Linked DNA regions of Homo sapiens: region 1 is linked to region 2. Evidence: promoter capture Hi-C in 16 types of primary human blood cells and fetal thymus (Javierre and others, 2016). All regions are on one chromosome and are shown on one strand. Each heading gives the region's core, a stretch centred on a gene start or on the middle of the fragment in contact. The rest is flanking DNA. Distances are from core to core; before and after follow the strand shown. Region 1 overlaps AASDH (aminoadipate-semialdehyde dehydrogenase). Region 2 holds the start of CHIC2 (cysteine rich hydrophobic domain 2).

The links. The method cuts DNA at HindIII sites, captures the fragments that hold promoters and counts their contacts. A CHiCAGO score of 5 or more calls a contact.
Region 1: a contact is called between a fragment that was not itself captured here and the fragment with the promoter of CHIC2 in region 2, in 1 of 17 cell types (naive CD8 T cells). The highest score is 6.3, in naive CD8 T cells.

Annotation. Positions count from the first base shown.
Region 1 is chr4:56,377,481-56,383,533 of GRCh38, forward strand. AASDH (aminoadipate-semialdehyde dehydrogenase) reads right to left here. Exons shown (of 15, transcript NM_181806.4): 3 at 4,997-5,117; 4 at 668-984. Among named protein-coding and RNA genes, the nearest start is that of AASDH, 7.0 kb to the right of the region's middle. The HindIII fragment of the contact is 4,396 bases long and covers 119-4,514 here.
Region 2 is chr4:54,061,462-54,067,375 of GRCh38, forward strand. CHIC2 (cysteine rich hydrophobic domain 2) reads right to left here and starts at 3,144. Exons shown (of 6, transcript NM_012110.4): 1 at 2,721-3,144. The coding sequence starts at 2,839. RefSeq lists enhancers at 2,552-3,052, 5,049-5,914 and silencers at 2,852-2,981, 3,212-3,451. The HindIII fragment of the contact is 3,181 bases long and covers 1,968-5,148 here.

The DNA of each region.
Region 1 (6,053 bases), core at 1,067-3,566, 2.3 Mb after region 2:
GTTTCCTCAGCCCTGCTCTGACATTCTAGTAGGACAAACTCCTTCATTCTCATATAACTCTGCTAGTACCTCTGCTAGGAAAATCCTTTCTCCCTTTTTATTAATAATTAAGATGCAAAGCTTCTAATCATATCATTTGTTTGTTCCGTGTCTGGCCCTAGGCTTGGATGAAACAGGTGAAGGGCCTAGTCTGCAGAGAACTAAAGTTCAGATACAGCTGAAACAAAAAAGACTCAATTTACTTCTTAGGACTATTAATTTAGGAACAAGAGTTATAAAACCAAACGTTTTAAAATTATTTTTTTCCCTTTAAAATACAAGGTTTTTTGTTTTGTTTTGTTTTTGAGACAGTCTCACTCTGTCACTCAGGCTGGAGTGCAGTGGCATAGTCTCAGCTCACTGCAACCTCCACCTCCTGGGTTCAAGCAATTCTCCTGCCTCAGCCTCTCCAGTACCTGGTATTACAGGCACCCACCAACACGCCTGGCTGATTTTTGTATTTTTTCAGTAGAGACAGCTTTCACCATGTTGGCCAGGCTGATCTTGAACTCCTGACCTCAAGTGATCCACCCGCCTCAGCCTCCCAAAGTGCTGGGATTACAGGCATAAGCCACCACACCTGGCCTAAAATATAGATTCTGAGAAAGAGTCAAAGACTAGAACTTACCGAAAATGCTGGATATTTGGTACTATACACTTATGAGGCACTCTGACAATCTTCGGTATCCCTGTAGTCCCTGATGTATGTAGAACATAGGCTAAGCAATGCTTTAGCCTCAGATCCATGTGTTCTTCTGCTTTTTCTTCATTGACATGCTCAGAACTTATGCTTTTTATTTTTTCTTTTTCATATTTCTCTTTTCCATCATTTAGCATCAAGTTCACCTCAGTATTTTTCCAGTGAAGTCTGAAGAGCACTAGGTCATTATGTTCCACTGTAAATGTATCATAGTTCAATAATGTTTCATGAAAAGATTTAAATTTCTGTGTGAAATGGGGGACAAAGTTTACAGTATTAGTATGTTAAAAGATATTCTTCTTTATATAGAAGTAATATGAAATACAGTCATCCCTCAGTATCCTTGGGGGAATTGGTTCTAGGATCATCTCAGATACCAAAATCTGAAGATGCTCAAGTCCCTTATATAAAATGGTGCTGTATTTGCATATAAACCATGCACATCCTCCCATATACTTTAAATGATCTCTAGATTACTTATAACTAATACAAAACTATGCTAATTAATGCTATGTAAATAGTTGCTATATTTTTAAATCTGTATTAGTTTTTACTGTTGCACTGGGTTTTTTTTTTTTTCTGAATATTTTCTTTTTTTTTTTCTTGAGACAGGGTCTCACTCTGTTGCCCAGGCTGGAGTGCAGTGGTATAATCTTTATTTTTTTATTTATTTTTTTTTTTTGAGACGGAGTCTCACTCTGTCATCCAGGCTGGAGTGCAGTGGCGCAATCTCAGCTCACTGCAAATTCCGCCTCCCAGGTTCACACCATTCTCCTGCCTCAGCCTCCCGAGTAGCTGGGACTACAGGCACCTGCCACCACGCCCGGCTAATGTTTTTGTATTTTTTTTAGCAGAGACGGGGTTTCACCGTGTTAGCCAGGATGGTCTTGATCTCTTGACCTCATGATCCGCCAGCTTCAGCCTCCCAAAGTGCTGGGATTACAGGCATGAGCCACCACGCCTGACCACAGCAGTGTAATCTTAACTGACTGCAACCTCGAACAGCTGGGCTCAAGCGATCTTCCCACCTCAGCCTCTTGAGTAGCTGGAACTACAGGTGTGCACCAAAACACCCAGCTAGCTTTTTATTTTTAGCAGAGACGATGTCTCACTATGTTACCCAATCTGGTCTCAAACTCCTGGCCTCAAATGATCTCCTGCCTCAGTCTCCTAAAGTGCTGGGATTATAGGCGTGGGCCCCAAATATTTTCAGTCTGCAGTTGGATGAATCCTCGGATAGGAAACCTCTGGATACAGAGGGCCAACTGTATTCATTTACTCATTCAACATGACGTTTTTGGGGAGTGGGGGGAAGTACTTGCTGTATACCCGGGGGTAAAAAGATAAATAAATCTCCAAGAGCAAAGTGCTGTCCTTACTAACTTATTTTCAAAAACACCAGACATATACAAGCAATTATAATGCAATGCGTATGATAATAAAGCAGGCTTGAAATGTTAATGGGAACAGAGAATGCCGAACTCTGCCTAGAAGGTCAGAGATTGCTTCATGGGTAATATTTGTTATAAGTAGCTATTCTCCAAATAATAAAAATGGGCACTTCAGGCAAACAGCCAACATTGAGGATCTGACCTGGGAAAGCTGGTATGTGAACATTAAGCCTTCCAATTAAGGTAAAGAACGGGGTGGGGGAGAGGGAAAAGGTGAGGTGCGTTGTTGATAGGAGATGAGATGCAAATCCTTAATAACCGTGTACACTCAGCACTAAGGAGTTTAGATCTTAACCTGTAAGTGACAGGATCCAATTGAAGGTGGCAATAGCATAGATTAGACTCTATCAAGGACAGAATAATAAATGAGATTCTGCTAAGTGAGAACCATTTAATGAGTCTTTTGCAGTAATTCGGATATACTATATGGTCCTGAACTACTATTCTGTTACAAGAGGAGTGGTTAGAAAGGGTCTATGAGCAAAGAATAAATAAGACATGGTGACTTTCTGGATATAGAGTGAGTCTAAGAAAATTGTTGGGTTTCTGGCCCAGGTGATTTGGTGGATGGAGAAGAATTAATCCAGAAGTGAGTTTGGATGAAGAGATGCTAAACTGAATTTGTACATGTTGAAAGTAAGGTTTCTTTGAATATATCTTTTTAGGTTGACAACAACAGCTTAATGAAATATAACCTAAGTTTTCACATTAAATAAATCAACATAAATAATGAGAAAAAGGTCACAACCCAGAAGCCTACAGTGTTTTCTTTGTGTGTTTAATGTGTGTATGTATTGGGTAGGGGATGTGGTGTGGCCTGTAATATTTGAAAAATTAAAGAACTACATACGCTTCAGATCTAGCTCAAAACCATCCCTCCCCATTAAAATTCTACTATATCTACTAGGTTATGTTTACTTCACTTAGGACAATTATCACACTATGTAGATGTTATAGGTTCAGAAGTATTAACTTTTCTCTCCAACTACATTATAAAAAGCTGGAAGGCTTATATGCTAATGCCCTCCCAATCATCCTGTCCGTAGTGCAAGGTTTCTCAACTTCAACACTACTGATATTTTGGACCAGAAAATTCTTAGTGGAGTGCTGTCTTATACACTGTAGGATTTTTAGCAGTATCGCTGGCCTCTACCCACCAGATGCCAGTAGCACCCCACTTCCATCATTACAATAAAAAATATGTCTAGACATTGCCAATTGTCCCCAGTTGAGAACTACTGCTTTAGTGGATGCTGGGCATACATACAGTAGATGCTTAAAAATACTTACTGATCGTTCCTGTGTTAAATGAAGGAAGAACACTTACACCATCATCAAAATCATGGGATAGGAAGCAAGGTTTTGCTGCGCCCAACTCCTTTTTGGGTTTTGCTATGTCCAACTCCTACTGGTCATAAAGAATACCTTGACATTGACAATTAATACTGATACTCAGCTACCTTTTATAAAATTTTCACTAAGATTGCTAAGAAAAATAAACATCACATCCCCATTTCAGTTTTGCTTACTTATGAACAATGCAATAACCAATTTGAGGAGTAGAGGAAATTTCGGCTACACACTAATAAGTAATTATTTTAAAAATATTTATTAACCAGACCAGGTGTGGTGGCTCATGCCTGTAATCCCAGCACTTTGGGAGGTCGGGGCAGGCAGAACACTTGAGGTCAGAAGTTCAAGACCAGCCTGGCCAACATGGTGAAACCTTGTCTCTACTTAAAAATATATATACAAAAATTAGCCGGGTGTGGTGGCATGCACCTGTAATTCCAGCTACTTGGGCAGCTGAGGCACAAGAACCGCTTGAACCTGGGAGGCGGAGGTTGCAGTGAGCTGAGATCGCACCACTGCCCATTGCACTTCAGCCTGGGTAACAGAGTGAGACTCTGGCTCAAAAAAAAAAAAACCCTTTGAGTCTCTAGAAAGTCCCCCATATACCTCAAGTTCTTGACACTTCTCACACACACACACACACACACACACACAGTTGGGGGGGGTGAAAGCAGGGAATGCATTTAAGTTACCCCAATACAAACTGGCTCATATAGAAAATGGGCAAAAACAGGCTAAATTGAATATATTTTTATAATGTTCTTCCCCTTTAGTAAAACAATATTTTATAAATAATAAATAAACAATGAAGCATGGGCTGCATCTTGCTGAAGATATAACACCAATTCTTGCCCCAAAAACAGAGTTTCTTGGTTATATCTTTGGTTGGCAATCATTTAAAAATAAAAAAACAATAAATTTACTTTTCTGGAAAGATCTCCTCTAAGTACCAGTCTCTTTTTCAAAATGCAAGCTTAGTTATAATTCTTCAGTGTTGCTGACCAATGTAATTGCCATAAATATGAAAGTTCCAAGTATTATAAAATTTTGCAGTATAGGAAATACTTTGGAAAGAGAAATTCAAAACAATGCATAATATATTATTATAAGGCTAACAGATCTGTTCATACTACAGAATAGTGGCTCACAATGGAGTGTGAGGGGTGGAGAGCCCCTCTGGGGGACAATTGGCAATGTCTGGAGATTTTTGGTTGTTATGACTGGGAGGTGCTACTGAGGTCTAGCGAGTGGAGGTCAAATATATTGCTAAATATCCTATAATATACGGAACACTCCTCACAACAATTACTCAACCCTAAAAATGTCATAGTGCAAAGACTGAGAAACCTTGCCACATTTAGCAGACTTAGGAATCCAGATGGGAGAAGGAAGGAATGTTTCAATTGAAATAAATGTAATACAGGCAAAAAACAATTGAAACATCCAGACTTACATTAATTTGTTTTTTTTCAACAAGGATATACTTTAGATTACATTTTTTCATAAAATGAGTTGATAATGACGGTGGTGAATCTGGCTCGATAGGTACATAAGCAGCCGGGACTTGGAGAATTCTAAAGAAAAAAGTACACAGTCAGCATAGAATGTCTGTTGATTTAGTATTTGTTTAAGCATTTCTATTTCTCTATGCACTTTATTTATTTTTTGTAGCAGCATAAAAATGGTTTCCGGAGCACTTTATTGCTGATCAGAAATTTCCAATGTTTTCACTGACACATAGTTGGTAATAAACGCTGTCATTTTAGCCGGGCACGGTGGCTCACGCCTGTAATCCCAGCACTTTGGGAGGTTGAGGCGAGCGAATCACCTGAGGTCGGGAGTTGGAGACCAGCCTGACCAACATGGAGAAACCCTGTCTCTACTAAAAATACAAAATCAGCCGGGCGTCTGCAATCCCAGCTACTTGGGAGGTTGAAGCAGGAGAATTGCTTGAACCCGGGAGGCGGAGGTTGCGGTGAGCCGAGATCACGCCGTTGCACTCCAGCCTGGGCAATAAGAGTGAAACTTCATCTCAAAAATAAATAAATACATAAACACTGTCATTTTATCTTTTCTTAATGAAAATCCTGAGTATTTACTATGTTAAATTCTTATCACTTAATATAGAGAAATACAAGATTTTTTTAAAGTTAAGCATTTTAAGTAGTTTCAGGTATACTTTAAGGACACTAGATCTTTGCACATAGTAAATTCTCAATAAATTTCGTCAATAATTGAGTGAAAGTAAATTTTTGTTGTTGTTTTTATTTGTTTTATAGAGATGGGGTCTTGTGAAGTCACCAGGGTGGTCTCGAACTCCTGGCCTTAAATAATACTCCAGCCTCAGCCTCTCAAAGTGCTGGGATTTACAGGTGTGAGCCACTGTGCCTGGCCAAAAGTAAATTTTTGAACATCTTTTGCTTTATATTTATATAATTAATTTACTAAGACACATATTATAGAATGAATAAACTATTTCTTTGGCAGTTTATACTTACTGCAGAGTTCTA
Region 2 (5,914 bases), core at 1,894-4,393:
TTACATGGTCAATTACTTTCAAATTGGTAAGGGAAGACTGCTCTGATCAGCACCTAATAAAAAAAAAAGGTGGAGGAGGGGGTGTTAAATTTAGCCAGTCTTACTACAACTGTTCTAATAGCTCTTCCCATTTATATTTAAAGCAAGAAAAATTGAATGTGCTCAACAGTTATAGTAATACATATGCACCAATTCTAAAAACCTTTATAGATGTTAACTGGGCTACCCACTGGCATGGTGTGCTAGTGTGCCTGGGAATTATGCATGACAGAGCCATGTTAAAAAAAAAAGTTTTCTATTATTACCTATGTCGCCACAAAACAGGTTAAGTTTTCAATGCAGAAAGATCCTTATTGTCATCAAAATACTTCAAACACAGTAATTTAAGCACATACACATTGCTTAGAAATGGAAAAATAAGACTAAGGTGAATCATTGTTATGTTTGATAATGGCAGTTCTAATTTTTTAGTACTTTGTTTTACACCTGTTTCTCAAAGTGGAAAACTATATCTGAGGAGGAGAATAATAAAAACTAGTATCTATTGAACATAGTACCACACAGTGCAATAAATTCTTTTCATGTACTATCTCATTTAATCCTTAATAATCTTAAAAGGTATCGACTATAACTATCCCCATCTCAACTAAAGGTCATGAATAAACAATTTATCCAGGAAGTAGCTGAGATAGATTTTAACCCAGAGCCTAGAACCAAGATAAATGGGAGAAGAAGGAAGTTGCTGAGGAAAATCAGAGATTTAACTCACAATGTAGAAAGGCATACTGTTTATTGATGATAGATAGTCCCTCCCTATAACCTGGAATAGTTTTCAATCTTGGCTACACATTAGAATCACCTGTGAGATTTTATTTATTTATTTATTTATTTATTTATTATTTTAACTGTCCACTCCTAGGACCCTCACTTAGTATTTGGCCTTCAACTGGCCTGGGGTGGAGCAAAGACAATGGTCTTTTTTTAAAGACACCCAGGATTCTAATGGACAGCTAAGTTTGAAAACCACTAATAATTATTTTCTACCCTATTAACCTCTCCACGTAGCCAACTACAATCAAGTTTACTGATTACCTAGGTTCTGAGCACTTTGCCCACTATTGCATTTTCCACTTGCCCAACAAAGTGCTTAGCTTTTCTTCTCCTTAACAGAGGAAACATTACAACTACAGCGTCGCCTTTTTAAATGACAAAATTCTCTAGCTTTTCTTTGACATGAGGAATGTAGAAGGAGGGATAGATGGCATGACAAAGTTTGGAAATCACTTCTTTAAGCATCCACATACTCCTTAGGCTTAAAACAGTGCAAAAAGGTCCTAAAAGTCAAAATAAAATCAAATGGCAGGTTATGAATTCTGTGATATATGTTAAAAGTTTAATATCCATGATATTTGGTTATACTTCTTAAGCTGGTGACAACACTTAGAAAGTATTATTGTGGTGAATTAAATTCCACTGTCTTGTCATGGTGCTGTGATGGCAATTATGCAGTGTTTTTACCCTGTTAAGTCACCTGAACATAAACTAACAGGTACTAAAGAAATTAAAGCATTACATAAGCATACTCAAACAACAATATGGCTGGTCATACGAGAAATGCAATTATTTTGCTGACAAACTTATATGAGAAGTCTTACTGTTTCCCTAAGTTATTCACAGCACATCCCACTCACTCTTCACCAAAATATAATGAAGACTATTCCAGACATTCTCAGACTTGCTGGCTCTTTTGTTTCACTGAAAAGGTGAAGAAGTACAGAGATACCTGACAAGTATGGAAGTCTGATCTATTATTTGAACAAGAGATCTAAAATGAGAGAGTATCAATGTAATACATCAAGTGGTACAAAACTGTGGACTTCATAGTGAAACATTACAAAACTTCCTGCTTCCGGACAGCTCATTATTTGGTTCAAGGCTTCACATTCCTTTGTCATGGTCTTTCCGAAAGCTTTCATTCCTTATTAATATCAGACTTTTAATGTTACTAGTGGGACTTTCCAAATTAACAAGCCCCAAGTTCGTGCCCCAAGGAGGAGCTTCAGGACTACAATTTTCCCTCAGTAACCTGAGCAGAGTGTATGTCCCTCACGTAGTTGTTGTTGTTGTTGTTGTAAACATATTTCTTTCTGTATATCTTAAATTTGTGTTCAACTATATATTTTTATCACGTACAATTACAAGAACTTGCATTAGTTCTGCGGAAATTAGTGGAAAAACTGGGAGACCTGTGGGTATGTGTGAAATAGACACGAAACGGAGCTTCGCTGCCAATTGTCACTGGGGTCTCACACGGCCCAGATCTGGCCTCTGAGCCATGTCACTGGGTGCAAAGGCACAGACAACCACAGGGTAACTGGGCGAGAAAACAAGGAGGCTCCCTGTCAATACACGTACTTCCACCCTGAAGAGGAAGGGTGGCCCGCAGGGCAGACCCTAATGAAAACCCGTGCCTACTGGGATCGTCACATCGCCCGGGCCTGTAGGGCCTGCTAAAGGGGTGTGTGGAGGAGGAAGGACAGCGTCCGTCCCCACTTCGGAGACCCAAACAAATGAAAATAAGCCAAGTTCTCACTTCCTGGTTGCCTACTCTTTCGGAAGGCCCCCGACACCAGACGGACACAGGGGAAACGGGGCTCCCGTGGAGTAACGGGGCCCACCCCAGCCCGCACCTCCCGCCCTCGCCCTCCTCCGGGCCTTACACGGTGACGTGACCGGAGCCGCGGACGACCACCGGGTCCGGCGAGTACTTGAGCAGCTGCTCCTCCAGGGCCCGCTCCTCGTCCTCCTCTTCCTCATAGATTTCGTCGAAATCCGCCATCCTGAGCCTCCGAGCTCCCCTGCCCAAAGGGCCTGACTCCCGGGGTTGGCGCCGGGGTACCGGCGGGCGAGGCGGCGGAGGCTGAGGGGAGTCGCCGCTGCCGCCGGCTCCGAGGCCGCGGAGTTCGCTGTCGGCTGTCTCGGCTCCGGCTACAGAGGGGATGGGGTCTGGACCGTCGCCGCCACCGCCGCCGCCATTACCATCAGCAATAACAACAACACAATGTCAACATCCGCCCAGAGGCCGACACCTCCACAAGCACAGACGCCGCTGCCGCCGCCGCAGCAGCAGCAACTCAGGAAACCACAGCAACAGCCCGAGCCACCCGCAGCGGGAGCAGCCGGCTACGGCATCGCGAGACTTCCCGGGCCAACGGGCGGGCGGGCGCGTGCGTGGGCGCGTGGGCGAGCGGACTGGCTGGCGGGCGGGCGGGCGCGCGCACGTGCGGCCTCGCGCGCTCCCAGGCCACCGTCTTTCCTCTGCTTCTACCCGCAGACGGCGACCGGGGCGCGCGCTCCCGCCGGCGGGCCCCCCTCCGCCGACTTCTGGGTGGCGGACCCTGGGGGCGGCGGCTCCGCTGACTGGAGGCCGCGACCCGCGACTCCGACAACGCAGCTTGGAATGTCCAGTGGGACATGCAGTTCCCCAAAGTCATCTCTAACCAAAACAAACAACTGAAAAGAAAAGCCCTGGCTGGAATAGACACATTTTTGTGCGTGTCATTGCCAGTTTATCTAATAATCGCATCTCGCTTTTCCTCAGGTTTTGAGTCTATGATGAGAACCAGAGTCTCTTTTTTCCCAATTTGAGGAGTCCAGCAGAGACACTGCAAACATTTGTGCTCACCACAGGATTTTTCAAGACATCTCCAAATTCAAACATCTTATCCCTTGATCCCCTTAAGTATAATCCAATATATGAGGCCAGCGATGCTGGTATTTTTTTTTTTTTCTTACAAGAAATCTCACCGTAGTCATGCTATGAAAAAAAACTGATAAATTACCTGGATTCCATATTAGAAGATGCAGTTTCTTGCCCCAACTCTCTCACCAAACATAACCTGGTTTTTGTTGTTGTTTCCTTAAAATCTTAGGGAATTCCTTTCCTTTTCTTACCAGTTCCTACCACAAAAAAGACCTGAAAGAAAGGGCAGAGGAGAGGAAGAAAAGGAGGCAGGAAGGAAGAAAGGATAGAAGGAAGGACGAGAAGAATGAAAGAAGAATGGGAGAGAAAGAAAGAAGGGGAGGAAGGAAGGAAAAGGTTTAATGGAGTCTACTTAGCTGCCTAGTAACAGTTGAACGGTCACTTTGGGTACTTGGTTTCATTAAGCATATAAACAGCACAGGGGAAGGAGTGGGCTTCTGAGAAGAGAGTCCTGGACAGTGAGGATACACCATGGGAGAAGAAAGGATAGTTCTACTGAGCCCAGCGCTGGTCAGGCTCTTCAAGTGCAGTGTTCATGTCACAGTAGTCGGCTTTAGATGGGTCACTGTTGACGTGGAGAAAGTGCAAAGGAGGTCAATGAGGACAGTGAGAGATGCCAACCTCCTTTTGGAAACAACTGAAGGAAATGAGTGTGGTTAGCCAAGAAAAAATGAAGGAAAAATACAGTAGTTGTATCAGACTTATTGTATCCCTCCCTGGAGGGTATTTGTTCATTCAACAAATATCTACTGAACTCTAGCTATGTGGCAGGCACTGTGGACGTGTGTGAATGAGGCACAGGCCCTGACTTCTGGTAGCTTATCTATTGTTAAGGCAAGCAATTGTCATCTCTGCCAGGGGCTCATGGAGGAGGACACAGGAAGTGTCAGTGGGGCACACAGGAGGCAGCTTGGTCTGGTGTTTAACAATGTGTGTTCTGGAACCTGACTACCTGGCCTTGAATGTCAGCTCTGCCACTTACTGTGTGACCCTAGACAAGCCACTTAACTTCCCTGTTCAGTACCTGCCCCATTGGGATGCTCAGCAGATTCAAGGGCTTAAGATCGGTGAAGTGCCTAGAAGAAGGCCCAGTACACAATAAATACGGGGTAATAGGTGATGCTTAAGGCTCCCTAGCTTATCAACCCTGTGAGGGTTACCACAGCATTATGTAATATTTTACTGCTTATAAAGCACGTACATAATATATCATTTAATATTCCCCCAAGAACCTGTGAGGTAAGCAAAGAGGGTGTATTTATTTTCAGATATGCTATGTTTCAGAGATGCTATGATATGCTATATTTCAGAGATGCTATGTGGCTTTCTCAAGGCCATGTGACGATTTAAGATTTAATGGTCTAATTGAGTATACTGGTGGTCCAAGCTTTCCTGAATGTCTTTTTTTTTTTTTTTTTTAAGACAGAGTCTCACTCTCTCACCTAGGCTGGTGTGCAGTGGCACCATCATAGCTCACTGCAGCCTTGAACTCCTCAGCTCAAGCGATCCTCCCTCCTCAGCCTCTGAATTTCCTCCTTGGCAGGAACCAGGAGACTAGTGGCTGCACTCAGTTAAAGGAACAGCTGCAAATGGGAAGATAAGAAAGAGAATAAGAGGAAATAAGGTCAGTATGTCCTGGCACAGCCCACACCTGGCTGTGGCTGAGAATTCACCCTTATGTAGAAACAGTGGCCAAGATAAGGGGCTAGTGCCCCAAAGTATCTAAATCATCACATAGCTGACAACTTCCCAAAGACGGAGGAAGCCACACAGAGCTCCTTAGAACTCCAGCACCTTCCACAGTTCCTGCTTCAGAAAAGGAGCTTAATAAATGTTATCTGAATTGAGATACAGTGTTACTAGTGCTCTTTCCAGAACACTGTGACTTAATTAGGCTTCAGAGGACTGTGAGAACCTCACTCTTATCTTCACACTGGCTGGATGTGGGAGAAATGTTCTTATTCTAAGATCTATTCAACAGAGAGATCTTTGTAACTCCCACGGCCTGGGTATACGGTAGAGGCAGGGAATTGCCTTTTCTTTTTCTTTTTTCCTTTCTGTGTGTGTGTGTCTGTGTGTGTGTGTGTGTGTGTGTGTGTTTTCTTCTTTTTCCTGTTCTGAAAAACCTGTCAGAGCCAGCAAAAGGGTGTG